2 separate regions of the Homo sapiens genome follow, and region 1 is linked to region 2. The links are contacts of gene promoters, found by promoter capture Hi-C in blood cells and fetal thymus (Javierre and others, 2016). All regions are on one chromosome and are shown on one strand. Each heading gives the region's core, a stretch centred on a gene start or on the middle of the fragment in contact. The rest is flanking DNA. Distances are from core to core; before and after follow the strand shown.

Region 1 (2,700 bases), core at 167-2,666, 46 kb after region 2:
CAGACCATATAAATCATTCTATTATAAAGATACATGCACATGTATGTTCACTGCAGCACTACTCACAATACCAAAGACATTGAATCAACCCAAATGTCCATCAGTGATAGTCTGGATAAGGAAGATGTGGTACATATACACTGTGGAATACTATGCAGCCATCAAAAGGAATGAGATCATGTCCTTTGCAGGGACATGGTTAGAGATGGAAGCCTTTATCCTCAGCAAACTAACACAGGAACAGAAAACCAAACACCACATGTTCTAACTTATAAGTGGGAGCTGAACAATGAGAACACATGGACACATGGAGGGAAACAACACACACTGGGGCCTCTTGAGGGGCGCAGCGGGAGGCAGAGCATCAGGAAAAATAGCTAATGCATGTGGGGCTTAATTACCTAGGTGATGGGTTGATAGGTTGCAGCAAACCACCATGGCACATGTTTAAACCTATGTAACAAACCTGTACTTCCTGCACATGTATCCTGGACCTTAAAATAAAATTTAAAAAAAAATTTAAGTTATCAGACCAGGAATTTAAAATATTGTAATTAATATGCTAAGGGCTCTAATAGAAATTGTAGATAACATATAAGAACAGATGGATAATGTAAGCAGAGAGATGAAAATTCTAAAAAAGAATAAAAAGAAAATGTTAGAGACCCAAAACACTGTAACACAATTAAGAGTGACTTTGATGCGCTCATTAGTAACCTGGACATGGCTGAGGAAAGAATCTCTGAGCCTGAGTATATATCAATAGAAACTTCTAAAATGAAAAGCAATGAGGTTTTTAAATGGGACAGAATATCCAAGAACTGCAAAACAACTACAAAAAGTGTAAGAAACATATACATAATGGGAATACCAGAGGGAGAAGAAAAGGAGAACAAGACAGAAGTAATATTTGAAGCAATAATGACCGAGTATTTTCCCAATTTAGTTTCAGACACTGACGATGGATCCAGGACTCTCAGAGAGCACCCAGCATGATAAATGCCAAGAAAACAAAAACAAACAAAACAAAACAAACAAAAACTATAACTAGGCATATCATATTGAAACTGCAGGCCTGGCATGATGGCTCATGCCTGTAATCCCACACTTTGAGAGGCCAAGGCAGGTGGATCACCTGAAGTTCGGAGTTCGAGACCAGCCTGGCCAACATGGTGAAGCCCTATCTCTACTAAAAATACAAAAATTAGCCGGGCATGGTGGTGGGCGCCTGTAATCCCAGCTACTCAGGAGGCTGAGGCAGGAGAATCACTTGAATCTGGGAGGCAGAGGTTGCAGTGAGCCAAGAGATTGCACTGTTGCACTTCAGCCTAGGCAACAAGAGCAAAACTCCGAGCCAAAAAAAAGAGAAAGAAAGAAAGAAAGAAAGAAACTACAGAAAATTGGAGAAAATCTTGAAAAAAGCCAGAGGGAAAAACACCTTACCTATAGAAGAGCAAAGATAAGCATTACATCTAACTTCTCAGAAACCATGCAAGCAAGAAAGGAATGGTGTGAAATATTTAAAGAGTTGAGAGAAAAAAGTCATTGACTCAGAATTCTGTACCTTTTGAGGTTATTCTTCAAAAGTGAAGGAGAAATAACAACTTTCTCAGACAAACAAAAATTGAGGGAATTTTTTGCCAGTAGGCCTGACTTGCAAGAAATGTTAAAAGAAATTCTTCAGAGAGAGGCCAGGCATGGTGGCTCACGCCTGTAATCCCAGCACTTTGGGAGGCGGAGGCGGGTGGATCACAAGGTCAGGAGATCGAGACCATCCTGGCCAACATGGTGAAACCCCGTCTCTACTAAAATACAAAAAATTAGCTGGGCATGGTGGCGCACGCCTGTAATCCCAGCTACTCGGGAGGCTGAGGCGGGAGAATCACTTGAACCCAGGAGGCAGAGGTTGCAGTGAGCCGAGATCACGCCACTGCACTCCAGCCTGGTGACAGAGCAAGATTCTGTCTCAAAAATAAATAAATAAATATAAATTCTTCAGAGAGAAGAAAAATGATATAATCAGAAATTCAGATTACAGAAAGAAAAGAAAAACATTAGAAATAATTAAGTGAAGGTAAAATAAGAACTTTAAAAATTAATTTCTAATTGATCTAACAGATAACAGTTTATTCAAAATAATAGCAATAGCTACAATGTATTTAGTGATTACAGCTTATGTAGAAGTGAAAGAATGACAGCAATAATACAAGGGATAGGAGGGAGGAATTAAGAATACTTTATTATAAGATACTTGCATTACCCATGAAGTGGCATAGTTTTACTTAAAAGTGAACTTGGACTAGTTGTAAATGTATTTTGCAAACTCTAGGGCAATTACTAAAAAAATAGAAGTATTACTGATATGCTAAGTCTTACTGATATGGAAAGGGAGAAATGGAATCATATAAGGTGATCAGTTAAACAACAAAAGGCAGAAAAAGAGTGGAAGACAGAAACAAAGAAAAAGGACAACAAATAGAAAGCAATGATGAATCTGACAGATATCACTTTCAATGGCAAAAACTGCAATCACCTTTGCACCAACCTAATAGTTATCTATATCAATAAATTTCAATGGATTAAATACACCAACTAAAAGACAGAGGTGGTTAAAGTGAATCACACAAGACATAACTGTATGTTGTCTACAAGAAACCCACTTTAAATATAAAGACATACATAAATTGAAAAAAGATGAAG
Region 2 (2,700 bases), core at 44-2,543:
CTATTTCACAAAATTCCCACCAAGAAAAGAAAAAAGTATGGAAATGTTTAAAATTGTATCATTGCATTGTCAAGTATATTCCTGAAAAGAGAGAGCTTCAATTTTAATCAGGCATCAATGAGACTTGAATCTTCCACTTATAGTTTTACACATCTAATAACAGGAAGAATTTTCTACAGACTGGCTTCTGGTTCCATACTTTTCACATTTACTTTTCCTCCCCTGCCCAAATACTTTTGGTGCCAGCACTGGAAGACACGTTCTTATTGGATAGCAGCCCTTCTGTTCCTGCATCTTCACGCCATGAGCAAGGTGAATGAACACAGCAACAGCAGAATGGCTAGCAAGGATTTATGTGTTCCCAAGGGTGACTGTGAACCACACAAATCTATGCTGTTAAACTGAGTCTAGGCCGGGCGCGGTGGCTCACGCCTGTAATCCCAGCACTTTGGGAGGCAGAGGAGGGCGGATCACGAGGTCAGGAGATCGAGACCATCCTGGCTAACACAGTGAAACCCCGTCTCTACTAAAAAGACAAAAAATTAGCCGGGCGTGGTGGCGGGCACCTGTAGTCCCAGCTACTCAGGAGGCTGAGGCAGGAGAATGGCCTGAACCTGGGAGGCGGAGCTTGCAGTGAGCCGAGATTGTGCCACTACACTCCAGCCTGGGCGACAGAGCGAGACTCTGTCTCAAAAAAAAAAAGAAAAAAAAAAACTGAGTCTATCCCAACTCAGCCTTCCCTTAGTCTCGTGGCAAAAGAGGTTGCCATTCCACCCCACTCAACAGGAGGTGAGTGACAGAGGGAGTAAGAGGGAAGAGAGACAGAGGTCCTCTCCAATTGCAGCTGAAATATCTTGCTTTCACAAATTTTACCCAAAAATATACAGCTCTGTAAACACGTTCCTCGGGCCCTGACAGGCGCCCTGACACTTAAGCTTCAGGAAATCCAAATTGGCTATGAGTAGAGGCTTAAAGTAAAACTCCTTCCTTGTAGGTAAGCTGCATGACTCTCTCTTCACTGCCATCAGGAGGATCAGGAATGCCACTGGGGCTGAGAAATAAACTGAAGGCAAGAGATAATGGTAGGCTCCCAAAGTGGTGGGAATCAATAAAGCAAAAGAGATGAAAGCAAGAGAAGAGGAGAGAGAAATGTGGTTAAAATGCGTGCAGACGGGACCTGATGAGGTAGAGTCTTGTGTGCAAGTGGGCGGAGTCCAATGATGGAGGTGTGACTAACAGTTGAGGGTGGGGCTAAAGACAAGGGTGGCCTAAGTGACAGATAAGTGGACCCTAAGGATCAAGGCCATGGACACGCAAAATGTGAGTAAGGCCCTTGCAGTAGGGACTTACCTGACAGGTAATGAACCGTGTCTAAATGTGAGTGGGGGATTGGAAACAAGATGGATGGGCCCTAGAAACAAGAAGTCAGGGGCACCTGGGCCAGGCCTTCTTTCCTCCCAAGATCAGAGATGGGGATAGGAACAGGAGGGGAGGGTCCCCCATTGAGCATCTCCCTGTTTTTCCTTTCCCCCAATCAGTTAGAGAAGACAGCCATAAAGATTCAGTCATGGTGGCGTGGAAACATGGTGCGCCGGACGTTACTGCAGGCAGCACTCAGAGCCTGGGTCATCCAGTGCTGGTGGAGGTCAATGCAGGCCAAGATGTTGGAGCAAAGACGGCGCCTGGCACTAAGACTCTATACCTGCCAGGAGTGGGCGGTGGTGAAGGTGCAGGCACAGGTTCGAATGTGGCAGGCCCGCAGGCGGTTCCTCCAGGCACGCCAAGCGGCCTGCATCATCCAGTCTCACTGGCGCTGGCATGCCAGCCAAACCCGAGGCCTGATCCGGGGCCACTATGAGGTCAGAGCCAGCCGGCTGGAGCTTGACATCGAAATCCTCATGACCTAGGGCGCTGACAGAGCCAAGGAGGCTGGATCTCTCTTCCAATAAAGACCCTTACTGACCATACACTTGCCCTTTGGAGATTAGACTCATGGAGGAGGGTTCAGCCTCTAAGTTTTCTGCCTTCCCCCCAGAAAGATTCCCTGGTGTGGTCTAGAGCCCCTGTCCTCAGGTCACCAACCTAGGCCCCTGTTCCTAACAGCATACCGGGACAGTCTTGCATCCAAGAGAGACCCCAGGGCCCAGGTCAAGCAATGATGCCTCAGTCAGCCTGATTTTGGCCCCTTCCACAGTGGGAGTAGGCATTGGGCTTTAGTTTCCTGCAGCCCCTGTCCAGGCATCTCCATTCAGATCAGAAGATCAGAGAATCTGGCTGCAGCCAGGGCCAGCTGGGAAGGCCAGGATTCCACAGGCCTGTGCTTGGCAAGGCCCTCAGGGCCGGCAGAGTGCTTGGCAGGGAGCCAGGAGGACATGGCACTTCAGCTGGGCAACAGCAGGACAGACGCTGTGCCTTATGGTGGGGAAGGGAGTCAGGGAGCAGCCAGCCAGAGCCAGCCCCTGGGGAAGCCAGAGCAGGAGCTGAGGGCAGCAGCTGTGCCTGCCGCCTGCCCACCCTGGGGCTGAACAACAAGGCTTCCCTCCCCTCTGCTGGGCACTTCCTTGGAGAACCAGGCATGGGATCAGGGAGGGGAGAGAGACTTGGGGGCTGTGGGGGGATGGTTGTGGGGGTGGCATGGGGGCAGGTAAACAAACAGAGGACTAGGGATAGGCAGGGGAAAGGGTTGTCCCTCTGCCACTG

What was found. Contacts are between HindIII fragments. The CHiCAGO score rates a contact against its expected background, and 5 or more counts as called.
Region 1: a contact is called between a fragment that was not itself captured here and the fragment with the promoter of IQCF6 in region 2, in 1 of 17 cell types (M2 macrophages). The highest score is 5.3, in M2 macrophages.

The regions. Positions count from the first base shown.
Region 1 is chr3:51,731,525-51,734,224 of GRCh38, reverse strand. No RefSeq gene overlaps it. Among named protein-coding and RNA genes, the nearest start is that of GRM2, 26 kb to the right of the region's middle. The HindIII fragment of the contact is 4,672 bases long and covers 1-2,700 here.
Region 2 is chr3:51,777,830-51,780,529 of GRCh38, reverse strand. It overlaps IQCF6 (IQ motif containing F6), which reads left to right and starts at 1,293. Exons shown (of 2, transcript NM_001368369.1): 1 at 1,293-1,377; 2 at 1,539-1,967. The coding sequence starts at 1,306. The coding sequence ends at 1,907. All of the region lies in intron 2 of LOC105377087 (a long non-coding RNA gene), which reads right to left. The HindIII fragment of the contact is 3,019 bases long and covers 938-2,700 here.